Regions from separate parts of the Homo sapiens genome. Here region 2 is linked to region 1. The links are contacts of gene promoters, found by promoter capture Hi-C in blood cells and fetal thymus (Javierre and others, 2016). All regions are on one chromosome and are shown on one strand. Each heading gives the region's core, a stretch centred on a gene start or on the middle of the fragment in contact. The rest is flanking DNA. Distances are from core to core; before and after follow the strand shown. Region 1 holds the start of THAP5 (THAP domain containing 5). Region 2 has its middle 6.3 kb from the start of IMMP2L.

Region 1 (6,664 bases), core at 2,927-5,426:
AATATCAAACCATTCCTTTCTCAACCTTTCAGTAGCAATTAACCAAGATACTGTTCTCCTTTACTGAATGACTCAATTATACAGTTTCATGTACACTCTGCAACGCAAGTCACAGATGTCATAGAACATGCAACTTTGAATTAGTAAAGGTTTCACTGCAAAAATCATTAGGTTCACACAATTTAAATCTACAATTAACTTTTAAAGTTTAATCAGGTAAACTCAATATTTTCTTGGTAATAATACTGGTGATATTAGTGAGCCCAAGGGCAGGTAGAGAAAAAGCACTAGGCAAAATTACGTGTTTTTTAAAGAAACTTTCCTAATCAGGGAAATAATTAGCATTTTGTCTACTCGTTGAATGTTGAATTTGTCAAAAAAAAAAAACCCTTAAATATATTTAATAGCTATATCAAATTGTTTAAAGTGAAATCATGCACTTGTCAAAATAGTTCACAGAAAATTGTTTAGCATCAAAGATAATGAGGAAGAGTCAACCAGTTGGATTTAGTGAGAATAGAATAAGAACTACTGTCCTGAACAGTCAGTGTATGTAGTAACCATATTTCCTCTTCGTTGAGTGACAGTCCTGCAGTGCTTGCTAGATCCATGAAATCTATTTTCAGTCTGTACTGTATGCTGATTGGTAGAGTCAAAACCACTAAAAGAAAACATTTTCTCCATATCTTCAAACATGTCATCAAATAATCCACCTCCAAAAGAAAATTCTTGGAAATGATGCCTTTGTCTACTGGAACCACCATCCTGGCGTGTCTGGAAATGATTTTCAAAACGCTTCTTGGATCCAGTGTTTTGGTTTTGACCAAAAAAGCCAAAGTCTTTAAATAAGTCATCAAAATTGAAGTTAAATGACTGCTCAAAAGAACTTCCACTACCTCTTTGTCCTTTACCACTAGTAAAAGCACTGTGTCCAAGTGTATCATACTCTTTTCGTCTATTAGCATCTGAGAGTGTTTCATATGCTGAAAGTGACAAAAATATTTTTAGTAACTGAAGGTAAAATATTCAAAATTACATATATTCAAATCTCTTCAAGCAAGTGAACTGAATACTATTATTTTAGGGAAGAATTTCGCATCAGAAATAAAAGCAAAACACTACAAATATAAGCATCAAGTTAATCAAAATTATAAAATAAAGCAGAAACTGTCTTATTAACTGCTGAGTTATCAGCAGTTGGCACAATGCCATCTGCAATACTCAATAAAGTTATTAAATGTTACCATTACTACAAATAAACATGTGGGCAACAATCAGAGTTCTTTAATCTTCATATTATTCGTGTGAAATCATTAATTGTATTAAAAAATTAAACCATCAACTATAACCAATTAATAGGAATTAAGATTTTGCACCTCCTTACTAAAGTAAACTGTTTAATTCTAACTCCCTACTCAGTTACCTCCATCCAACAATAATTACTGAATGCTCAGCAGGTGCAATTTGTTTTAGAGCTAGTCTGAAGTCAAAATTTGTTCCAATTTTTTCTTTGAAGACAAATATGGCTTTGAAAAGCAGATCAAGTGAATAAAGCACTTTAGAGTCTAGTTTAATTTTTAAGTCTTTAATGTTTAAAATGTAAAATATTCTGTTTCATAAGTTAGTTGATAAGAATTTTGGGTACCTAAAATTCTTTTTTGTCATAGAAGCAACAGTGATCTTATAAATAATATAGAATAGATTTTCAATATTTTTAGATACGTATACCAATAAAATTATCTATTATTCTTTCATATATTTATTCAGGAATCAAAGCATCTGTGATAAGAAAATAATCTCAGAGAATCACCCAATATTTATACATAAATCCCACTCCACCTCCCATCTCCACAAAACCTTCAAATACAAACACTTCTTAGCTATCATTCTCCTTACTAGTTAATACCCATGACACTTCAGAGATTGTCATTTATTTACCTTCTGCAATCTCTCTGAATTTTGCTTCAGCATCCGGGCTCTTATTTTTGTCAGGGTGGTACTTCATGGCCAACTTGTGAAAGGCCTTCTTGATTTGGCGCTCTGATGCCGATTTTGGCACACCTAAGATATCATAGTAGCTTTTTGAGGCCAGAATTAATTCTGTTATCATTAAAATGCAGATTGCAAAGATGAAAATTGACTGGGGAGTAGCCATTTCTAATATCCTAAAACAGAAAAGAAAAAAAAATGTTATGGATGGAGCTAATCTTAAAACGTTTTTCTTTTAAAAGAAATCCAACACAAGGTAAACCTAATGCAGTATCAAAATAGTAAGCATACAGTATCTATTACCTGTCCACATGTAATTTCACTTTTAGTTTTATAACTCTCAAACTGGCTTAACCTTATTGAGAACAAAAATAATTCTTGGCTTTGTCTGTCTACTAATACTCTGGCCATACACAGAGGAGATAGAAAATTATCAATAACTGACTTTTAACCAGTTTATATTGAAGATTCATCATATGCAAGCATTGTAAGAAAAAAAAAGAAAACCAAATAATATAAGATCCCAACTTTCCTTTCAAGACTTCATATCCTGAAAGTAATAATGTATTTAACTTCACAGAAAAAAAAAACATTAAAAAAAAAAGGTGGCGCACCAAGGTAAATAGCCCAGTATATCTAAATTAGTATTATTAATCTCGCTCCAAAAATTCAGCTTTCATTTCAGCAGGTGAGCCAAGGACTGCAAATAGAGAATCTTAATATCACAATACTAATACTGACAATACAATAGAATGTTGTCTTTTTCCCAAATGTAAGATCCCAAATGTTTAACCAGGAAGCATGGCTAAATATTGTTTAAAACTCATGATGAACAGAATTTAAGATTTCTGCTAAAGCTGCCAGAAAAATGAACTTTGATAGTTTGTACTGTGGTTAAGGCAGATTCTTACTTTCACAAACTCAGTAGTTAAAATATTTCTTTTACCTTTAAACCATTAAAGAAATGTTAACTTAGAATTCTTGACAATATGTATTCAATGACTTGAGATTCAAAACGAAGGGATGGATCCTGTTTTTTGAATACGGGACCACCAGAGTCCTTAGTAACCTATAATGCCATAATAAGGCTGACGAAAAACACTACGGTTTGTGGAAATTGCCTGGCTTCCTCTCCAGCGGCCTTTCCTGAGAGTAATTAGCAGGCAGGTAGATTACTTATTTCCAGAGAGTTACTCGTAGTCACGGGTACCAAGAATCAAGAACCACTTCTCGGTTTAAGGAACACAACAGTGTGTCCCATGGACGCTGCGTCAACTGCAGGTTGCTCCCTAGTCAAAGGGCGGATCTAAAACTGACAGGGAGGCGCCTCACTGGTTCAGCAGACGTTATTCCACGGTCTCAAGGTGGACATCTAATGATTTTTTTTTAGCAGACTAGTTTTGTATTGTACAGACTTCTCATCCCCAAGACGGCCCCGCCAGCCAGCAGCCCGTGCCTTATTCCCCAGCCTCGGTGGGCGGCTGGGCTAGACCCTCCAACCTTCACCTAAAGGCGACTGGCACTTTCCCTGCCCGCCCAGGCCCCGCCGCAGAAGCTGCCCGAGACCCGGGCTCTAATCCGGCGCCCGTGAAAGCCGGCGCCACAACCCAAAACACGATTCTGTGATGCGGCTGTCTCCGTTCTTCCATTCTCTCGGCCAAAAACATGCAGCCCATTGTCCCTGCGGCGACCGTGGCGGACACCGAGGCCAAGTCAGCTCACAAAGACAGGCCTGGGCTACGGGGACCCTCCGAACTCCCCTCCCCACGACCCCGGCCTCGTCCCTCACCTGCACCCTCCGACTACTGCTGCTCCTCCACAGAGCTGAGGCGCTGGCGACCCTGACGATCGGCTCGGGTCGGCAGCTTGGGCCCGGCCCCTCACCGCGGCCTCCCGGAGCTGGCACGCACCCTAATCTCGGTCGTACACCGACCTAGCGCTCCTCCTTCCCCGCCGGCGCCCAGTCCCCTCTCAGCCAGCTCCTCACAGGCAGGAGGTAGCCGCTGGCGCCACCACCTCAGAAGACCTACACGAAACGCTTCCCCATTGGCTTCTGCCTCCCCACGTGATCCCGGCGCCCTACGCGCACGTGGAAAACTGTTGTTGCTGCTAGGGCTGTGCGCCACTTCCGGCTTCAACCCCCGAAAAGGCGGTGCTTAAACCGGAGGAGGCGGAAGTGAGTCGACAGACGAGGCGGCTTTCCCGGCAGAATGCTAGCGCAGGCGCAGGGGCTCGAGAGGCCTGGACCTGTGGCGCATCCTCAGTGAGGAGGGCCGCCCTGCATCCGTCGCCGGCCCCGGTCTCCAGGGGCCTCACCCGAGTCATGCCCCGCTATTGCGCAGCGATTTGTTGTAAGAACCGCCGGGGACGAAACAATAAAGACCGGAAGCTGAGTTTTTATCCGTAAGTTGTTTCTGGAGCAGAAGCGTCAGCCTCGCCGTGAGGCCTTGGACCTGTGGCCTTTGGGCTTGGGTGTCTCCTGTCCGCTCTGCCAGTGAGTCCTCAGCTCTCCGTACGTGGCCCGTCGCCCGCGGCAAGACGGAGGGAAGGCGCTAGTTCAGTTTAGCTAGCAATGCCCTTCTTGCGCGAGGACTGCTGGCTGGTGGCGAGGCCCAGGAGCCTGTTTGGGTGTTAACAGTTAAAACAGTAAAGTTTGCGCGGGCTTCTGTGGTTTTCAGTCTTTTCCCCACTTCACGTGATCTCATTTCATTGAACAACATTAACCACCATTTAAGATACGTGAAACCTGCGAAGTGGAAAGGTGCACGCAAAGTTAATTTACACCCCCCGCGAGGTAGGTCGCATAGGTATAATTTCATCCCACTTTTCTCCTGAGGAAACTGAGGCCCGGAATGATTAGGTAACCGACCTTGAAAGTTTAGTGTCAGAGCCAGAATTATAAACTAGTCTTCTGCTTAGGGCTGTAGATACTCTGCGGAGAACAAGGTTTTATTCTGTTACTCTGAATTACTAGAGCCACGATATATTTCCATCAAACTACTGAAGCACTGATTTTTATTCAGAAGTACAGACAAGCAGTGTCGTATAATAATTAGGGGTCCAGGCTTCAATGCTAGATCCTGGTTCCACTATTCTGTAGCTTAATGACCTCTTGGAAAGTATTTAAGCTTTGGTGTCTCACATATCTCATCTGTAACATGGAGATGTTAATAGTACTCACATGATTAATAACACATGAAAAGCAACATATTTAAAATACTGCATTTCCATTTTTTCTTGTATTTAAAAACAATTCATTTAGATCTAACCTGGTTCAGATTTTCAGCAGTTGTTTTGTGCTCATTTTACTTTAGACCTGAAGGACTTATTCATTAATGATTCGGCTGCTTTCCAGTATTTTAATTAATGGAAAAAAAATTGATAACCCCACCAGGCGCGGTGGCTCACGCCTGTAATCCCAGCACTTTGGGAGGCTGAGGCGGGCAGATCACCTGAGGTCGGCAGTCTGAGACCAGCCTGACCAACATGGAGAAACCCCGTCTGTACTAAAAATACAAAATTAGCTGCGCGTGGCGGCGCATGCCTGTGATCTCAGCTGCTCGGGAGGCTGAGGCAGGTGAATCGCTTGAACCTGGGAGGTGGAGGTTGAGGTGAGCCGAGATCACACCATTGCACCACAGCCTGAGCAACAAGAGCGAAACTCCGTCTCAAAAGAAAAAAAAACTGATAACCCCAAGTAATTCACAATCCATGGCAATATTTCCAGGATTGTCTCCCTTGAAGCCCAGCCTCAAGATGCAAAGAGATGTTTGGGGGAGGAAAACAATCTAATCCACTTTCAGTTTATAGGGAAATACTACTGTACTAATGGCTCTATCTCTGAGAATGTTTGTAGCAAAAGATCATGTTGAACTTGATTTAACCCCGTATTTCCCAGATTTATTTGGCCTTTGATATTGGAGATGGGGTATAACCCCACACTGAAATTTTTAACTAAACTTTGTGGACCTTACAGTAACTTTTTAGGAAGGAAAAAATAATGCAAGTGAATTGTAAAGATTTTTTTCACTGAAAATGTGAATTTAGTAAAAGTTGTATTATTTCTAGGGTTTTTAAAAAATTTTCTTGTGTAATCCACAAAATAAAAATTGAATTAGTTTTATTCTCCAGTAGCGTCAAACTTGAATTGAATTTGCTCATGTTAACACTACAGCAAACTGTAGTTTAAATGTATATGAATTTGGGAATTCAGTTAATATAGTGTCCAGTTTGTACTGTGATTATCTTATGCCTTTTGGGGAATTACATAAGACAATGAAACAAAATTATCAAATGAATTGAACCAATATAAAGACATAATTTATTCAGGAAACATGATCAAGATTTCTTAGAGATTTACCTATTGAAGCAATACAATCCAGTAAACAATAAGGATATTCACAAAGTTTTTTTTAATGAGTTGATAACTTAGCATATAGGTACAATGGAAATAATTTGCAAACAGCATCCATATACATGAATTTACAGTAAAAAGCATTATTGTAAAAGGCCTATTCTCATTTCAGTTGTAACAAAAGAAATGAATTTACCAATGGCCAGAAGAAGTCAGGTCCTCTAAAAGAAAATTTGTCTGCCTTTAAAATTCCTTTTCTGGTTATGCTTGTCATACTTACAACCTAATATTTGTAAAGTTAAAATATTTTTAAAACATGAT
Region 2 (7,298 bases), core at 1,449-3,948, 3.0 Mb before region 1:
TTTTAGGCTTATAAACAGCCCCCGCAAGGTGTGCCTGTCTCTTATGGTCGAAACTGCAGAGATGAAATAAGCTCCAGTCTCCCATAGCGCTCCCAGGCTTATTAGGAAGATGAAATTCCCACCTAATAAATTTTGGTCAGACCGGTTGATCTCAAAACCCTGTCTCCTGATAAGATGCTATCAATGACAATGGTGCCTGAAACTTCATTAGCAATTTTAATTTCACCTCGGTCCTGTGGTCCTGTGCTCTCGCCCTGCCTCCACTTGCCTTGGGACATTCTATTACCCTGTTAAGTACTTGATGTCTGTCACCCATACCTATTCGCACACTCCCTCCCCTTTTGAAAATCCTTAAAAAATACTTGCTGGTTTTTGTGGCTTGTGGGGCATCACAGAACCTACCGACATGTGATGTCTCCCCCGGATGCCCAGCTTTACAATTTCTCTCTTTTGTACTCTGTCCCTTTATTTCTCAAACTGGCTGACACTTCGGAAAAATAGAAAAGAACCTACGTGAATATCAGGGCAAATTCCCCGACAAATTCTGCTATTAAAGTACTCTGATGGATTCTTTAGTCTGCCAATTGCATTTTTTAGTTCCAGAATTTCTGCTTGATTCTTCTTAGTTATTTCAATCTTTTTCTTAAATTTATCTGATATTATTCTGAATTCCTTCTCTGTGTTATCTTGAATGTTTTTGAGTTTCTTCAACCTATCTCTGTTTCTCTAGGATTGATCCCTGGTGCATTATTCAGTTCATTTGATGAAGTCATGTTTTCCTGAATAGTGTTGATCCTAGTAGATGATCTTTGGTGTCTGGGCATTGAAGAGTGGATATTTACTATAGTCTTCACTGTCTGGGCTTATTTATAGCCATCTTTGGGAAGGCTTTCCAGATATTTGAAAGGACTTGGGTGTTGTGATCTACAAGGACGTGAGTGTTGTGATGTACTTCAGGGAGCACCCCAAACCCAGTAATGCTATGATTCTTGCAGACTCACAGAGTACTGCTTTGATGGCCTTGGACAAAATCTGGGAGAATTCTCTAGATTACAAGGCAGAGACTCTTGTTCCTTTCTTCTTACTTTCTCCCAAACAGCCTCTGTCTTTGTTCCAAGCCACCTAAAGCTAGGGATGGAGTAACACAAACACCCCTGTGGCCACCACCACTAAGACCGTGCCGGGTTAGACCTGAAGCCAGCAGAGCACTGGTACTTGACCAAGGCCTCCTATAACCACCCCCTGGCTACTGCCTATGTTTGCTGAAGACCCTGGGGCTCTACTATCACCAGATGGCAAAGCCAGCCAGGCCTGTGTCCTTCCCTTCAGGGAGGGAAGGTCCCCCAGCCCACCAGTGGGTACAGAAGTGCCATTGTCTAGGAGTCAGAGACTAGAGTGAAAAACCTTAGAAGTCTACCTGGTGTTCTATTGTATTGTGGCTGAGCTGTTAAACAAACCACAAGATGCTGTCCTTCCCACTCTTCCCTCCCCTTTCCAAAGGCAGAGGAGCCTTACCCTATAGCCACTGCCATCCTGGGCCATGAAGAGTACTGCCAGACTACCACTGATGTTCCCTTAATGCCCAACAGCTCTTAAGTCAGCTTGTCATGAATGCTGCCTGGCCTGGGACTCACCCTTCAGGGTAGTGGACACCCCTCTGGCCCAGGACAGGTCCGGAAATGCTGTTCAAGAGTAAAATCCTAGAATCAGGGACCTCGAGAGCTTGCTTGATTTTCTACCCACTGTGGCTGGGCTGTTACCTGAAGCCATTCTCTTCTGGTCCAGGGTGTGTCTAGAAATGTTCTCTGGGAACTAGGGCCTGGAACAGGGGCCTTGCAGCCTTGCAAGTCTATCTGGTGCCCCATCCTGTTGTGGCTGAGCTTGTACCGTAGATGCAGGACAAAGTTCTCCTTGTTCTTCCCTCTCTTCTCTTCAAGTGGAAGAAGGTGTCTCTTTTGGAGCTGCAAACTGTGCAGCCTGAGGTTAGGAGAGGGGTGAGGCCAGCACTTCCTTGACTACCTATCCAGTGTCTCAGTATGTCACATGCCCCACCAGTCCACTGTCCTGGGCCTACTTCAGCACTAGGATATGCCTAAGAGTTGTAGTCCTTATGGCCTAGACTGCCTTTCAAGTTTACTTGGAGACAGACAGCTGTAGCCCTGGGTGGCGAGGTTTGCAGGCACTCAAGTCCCCCTCTGGCTAGGGCTAGTTTAAATGTTCTCTCTGTGGGTGGACACCAGCTGAGTTTGGGGTTTCCTTTCTGCTCTAACAAGACAGCACCGAGTTCAACGCCGCACAATTGCTGTGTTCTCACTCCCCCAGCACCCAAGGACACTCTCCACACCATGCTGCTCCTGGGGTCGGGGAGGAATAGGGGGTGGCATCGGCAATTCAGTACTATTTTTTCTCTCTTTGTTGCCTCTTTCAGCACTATGAAGTTAAAGCAAGGTACTATGAGTGCTCACCTGATTTCTTGTTCTTATGAAGGTGTTTTTTTCCATGTAGATAGTTGTTAACTTGGTGTGGGTTAGTGGGAACGATTCGTGGAGCTTTGTATTTCACCATCTTGCTTCGTCTCCCTCTTTCCCAGACTTTTTGAACCCTACCAACTATAGTGTTTAAGTGTGAGTAGAAAATAAAGGGACTTTGTTGAAAATCCTTCTGATTGGTCTTTATTTTTTAAGAGGACTGAATCTTGACCTGCCTTGTAAGAATAGCCTATTAATTAATTTGAAGGCAAGGCCAGGAGAAGGAAGGCTCCTTTAACTGTTGGCCAAAAATTATCCTAAAATACTTAGAGAACAGTTACTCTTTCTAAAAATGTGAATCTAAGTCTTTCATATTTTCATATCAGTTTGTTTACTGGCTACTAACTTTGTAGGCTGAGCAAAATACAAAGAGGAAAGAGTAAAGGACCTCTTTAGCATTAAGGAAAGTAAAAATTTCTTGCCTAGAATTTGTCAAGGTAAGGCAAGGGTGATAGATTCAGCTAGTAAGAAAACAATGAGTTGCCATTTTTAGATTCAGACAGTTTATTACTTACTTGGAAAGCAAAAGCAAGAGTAGCCAAAGATGCCAGCTCTGGTATCCCTTGCACAGGGTGACACTGATACAAAGGAGGCCAGATGACCACAACCTGGATGATAGGGCACCCTGTTCCTGAGGAACCAATGTCATGCTTCAGCTAAGCAGTTTTACAGCCTGAGGCTGTATTCTAGGGAGAATGAGGCAGAAAGTGTCATACCTCCTCAAAACACAGGAGGCAATGAGAAACTGGGAGGTGAATGAGAAATGGCCTTGGGTCAGCTCTTAACAAGCCTCTCATGATCTCATGTTGTAGGAGAATCAACAGAATTCCACCATGACTTAGATCAGCTGCAGTCAAGTCTTGCTGATGTGGCCTTTGTGGAGATGTGCAAGGGCGCATGCAAATGTTCAGGTCACTGTGGTAGAACCCTTCTCCTATATTTAGTTTCTGTAGCCATTTATGTGACTGTGATTTCTGTTAATCAAAAATAATGGCTTTGACCTGAATAAATTATTTACTGATGTAATAAGAAAGTCAAGCAGAATGATTATTCTAGTTCAAAAAGGCTAAAATTATAGGTAAGTCTTCACTAAACCCAAAAGTCACTGATTTGTTTAAATTCTACATTGTGAGATTAAACAAATCTCAGTCACTTCATAAAACCCATTTTCACTTCCCTGCCCCCAACCTTTTTTCCCCCACATGCTTGCCCTGCTTTATGGAACAAACATTGATGAATGAGAGACAGAAGGCAGGAAGGATCCAGTTAAAAAAAGTGCCTTAACCTTTCCCCTCCTGAGGGAGGATTGTTACCCAGTGGTTTCACACAGCCTTCTTGAGATGTCCTGTGTGACTAAGCAACCAACTGCATGTACTGGGATGCTATAATCAGCTTGGAAACATACCACCATGGATCTTCCTCCCTCTGTCCCTGCCTCTGTTCTCCCTTTTCCTTCATTATTGCTTTTCTAGTACTGCAACCCCCAAGAAAATTTTAACATGTGAGCTTGTCTCAGGCACTGTTTTCTAGAAAATCTGAGCTACGGCCGTCACTTATATTTTTAAATATTCATTATACAAAATTTCATACATATACGAAAACCATGGAAAAGTACAAAGAACTCCCCTCATCATCTAGATTCAATAATTATCCATTTTATTTTCTTATTTATGCTATCTCTTTTTCTTCCTTCTTTTTTTTTATGTTGAAGTATAAAGTAAATTCCAGAGAGTATGTCATTTAACTTCAACATACTTCAGAATGCCTCTCCAAAAATTATGGACATTTTCTTACATAATCACAATGCCATTATTACACCTAATAAAATAATATTTCTTTGGTATCATCTAACACCAGTCCATAGTTAAATGTCCGTGATTGTCTTACAAGTCTTTATAGTTGTGATGTTTCAATCAGGATCCAAATAAAGGTTCACATCTTACATTTCATGGCTGTATTTTTTTTAACCTAGGCTTCTCCTGACCCATTCCCTCTCCTGTGTGTCCAGTTATTAACTTGTTGTAGAGACTACATCAATTGTCCTAGAGAGTGTCCTCCATTCTACTCCATTCTAGATTTACCTGTTTCCTTCTTTGTGGCATCTTTTTTTCTTTTTTTTTGAGACAGGGTCTCACCCTGTCATCCAGGCTGGAGTGCAGTGGTGCCATCTTGGCTCACTGTAACCTCCGCTTCCCGGGTTCAAGCGATTCTCCTGCCTCAGCCTCCTGAGTAGCTGGGATTATAGGCACGCACCACCATGCCTGGCTCATTGTTTATTTTTAGTAGAGACAGGGTTTCACCATGTTACCCAGGGTGGTCTTGAACTCCTGGCCCCAAGTGATCCACCTTCCTCGACCTCCCAAAGTGCTGGGATTATAGGTGCGAGCCACTGCGCCCAGCCTCTTTGTGGTGTCATTTAACTTATTCCTGTAACCCTCATGTTTTTTGTAAGCCTGTAAGTGAGAAGTCAGTTTTAAGGCTTGATTAGATCCCATTCATGTTTTTTGGGTGATAACATTTCATAGTTGTGCTGAGTGCTTCAGATGGCATTAGATCAGGAAGCACACAATGTCTGGAGTCCCACTTGTAATGACAGATTATTAGGCTGAGGTAGTGACGGTCTGATCTCCATTGTGAAGTTCCTCATGAACATTTCATCTGTTGGTTTGATCCATTGATGATGGTTGCCTGAATCATTTATTAAATGCAAGATTGCTAAATGGTGGGTTTCCAATTCTGTTGTTTCATATTTATTATAAAAAACAACTTTCCCTCAACACCAATTTGGTTTTCTGATATATAGTTTAATCAGGAAAGATACATCAGAAAATTTGAATTATTTTCTTTTAATGGACAATTTTAGAATAAGGGCTTAATGCTAGCTACTTGCAATAGTGTCCAGTGGATTTTTTTTTTCCTTTTATTGACCTCCCCTTTTTGGAACATCATTAAGAACTCATGAATTTTTATATATTCAGTATGTTTCTAACAACTGCATCCATTACTTTTTTTGATGCTTAAATTGTCCATCTTTGGCCAAAGGAGCTATTTGATATTGGTTTCTGTGTCCCTTTGACACATTTTGTTGTTAATGGATTCCCGGCTTTGTGGGACAAGTTATCCTATGCTCATCTTGTGTATAACCTGACCCAGATCTGAAGTCAGACATTTGGTTGGTCAGCTCTAGTTTCTTTTAGTTGGAAATTGTATTAAAAAACCCCAAACTGGATGATTTACATTATTTTTATTTGTAATAAAAATGAAAGGTTATATATTTAAAATTTTATTCCAAGGTAGTAAGTTTAGAATCAAGTATTTAGTTCATAAATAAAACTGTAATTGCTTGTTTTGTTTTTGTTTTAAGCTCGCTTTTAAATTATTTTTATAAAAGGGGATATACCTTGTTATAAGCATACCTAAAATTGGATTAATAACTATATACCAATCTTACATTTTTTCCAGATGGTACAATTTATATTCAAAATTTTCCAAAACGTTTGAGATGAAGGATATAAATGAAATCTCAAGTGTTTTCATATCAATTCAAATAATAATATCAATTTCATCAGAGTTGCTATAGTAAAAGCTTTTAAAAACTTTATTGAAATGTCATGGTTTGATATGAGCTGACAAATATGAGTTTTAGCTTGAAATAAGTAAAGGGCTATAATTTCAGGTGTTAACAGAAGCCTGTGTGGAAATATATGACATTCAAACAAATGAAATGCAAAAGGCCATTTGGCAGTAATTCTCCAAGTGAGGTTTGAGAACACCTAGGGGTTACTGAAACCCTTCCCGGAGCTTTGTAAGGTCCTCTCTTTTTCAACTATGAATTCGTATGACAGTTAATTTTCTTCATATCTTAGGTATAACAACATATCACAACAGCCTGAATGCAGAGGCAGAATATGAGAATCCAGTGCTCTCCTTAAGCCAGATAATAAGAGATTTATAAAATGTTAAAAATGCCACTTTTCTCTAATTTTTTGGAAAAAAAGTAGTCATTATTTATAAAAATAACTTTTACAGTAACATGTAATGGGTTTAAATTAAGCAAACACATGTCTAACATTTTTCTATCTTAAATTTTAATACAGTAAATATGGACATATATAACCCACATAAACAACAGCTCTTTAAAGTTCTCAATCATTTTTAAGAATGTAAAGAGAACTTGAGATCAAAAAGTAGTTTGAGAACTGCTACTCTATGATACCTTCTATTATTTGCTTACCAATGGTAAGTATGTATAGATAGGAATATATTTTAATATCTATATTTGTGGAATCTGTAAACTTAATTATTTTAACTTTGTTTAAATATCTCTTTGACCATTAGATTTGATGCCTAACTATAGTTTAAATTTGTACCTTAGTTAGGACTTTATGATTCATTTTCCCCTGATGGTATTAACAACAAATAGAGGTCTGCTTTAATATATAAGGAGACAAGGCAAATATATTTGAACTAGATACATAAAGCCAAATATTCAGCTTAGAATTTAATTGATAAATTAGAATAAAATAGGATGCTCTAACTGCTGCTTCTTTTTCTCATAAACTTTTTTCTCCCAAAGATCAGTTTCAGGTTCAGAGCAAAATTGAGCAGGAAGTATAGGGTTCCTATATATTCCTGTACCCCACATCTGCACAGCCTCCCTGACTATGAATATCCTGTACCAGAGCAGTATATTTGTTACAATTGATGAACTTACATTGACATCATTATCACCCAAAGTTGAGATTTTATATTAAGGCTCCCTCTTTGGGT

What was found. The method cuts DNA at HindIII sites, captures the fragments that hold promoters and counts their contacts. A CHiCAGO score of 5 or more calls a contact.
Region 2: a contact is called between a fragment that was not itself captured here and the fragment with the promoter of THAP5 in region 1, in 12 of 17 cell types (non-activated CD4 T cells, activated CD4 T cells, naive B cells and 9 more). The highest score is 24.1, in non-activated CD4 T cells.

Annotation. Positions count from the first base shown.
Region 1 is chr7:108,567,218-108,573,881 of GRCh38, reverse strand. It overlaps THAP5 (THAP domain containing 5), which reads left to right and starts at 4,176. Exons shown (of 3, transcript NM_001130475.3): 1 at 4,176-4,392. The coding sequence starts at 4,313. It overlaps DNAJB9 (DnaJ heat shock protein family (Hsp40) member B9), which reads right to left and starts at 4,008. Exons shown (of 3, transcript NM_012328.3): 1 at 3,779-4,008; 2 at 1,939-2,165; 3 at 1-983. The coding sequence starts at 2,155. The coding sequence ends at 529. RefSeq lists enhancers at 3,853-4,580, 4,114-4,593. The HindIII fragment of the contact is 6,219 bases long and covers 1-5,119 here.
Region 2 is chr7:111,565,187-111,572,484 of GRCh38, reverse strand. No RefSeq gene overlaps it. Among named protein-coding and RNA genes, the nearest start is that of IMMP2L, 6.3 kb to the right of the region's middle. The HindIII fragment of the contact is 6,837 bases long and covers 1-6,116 here.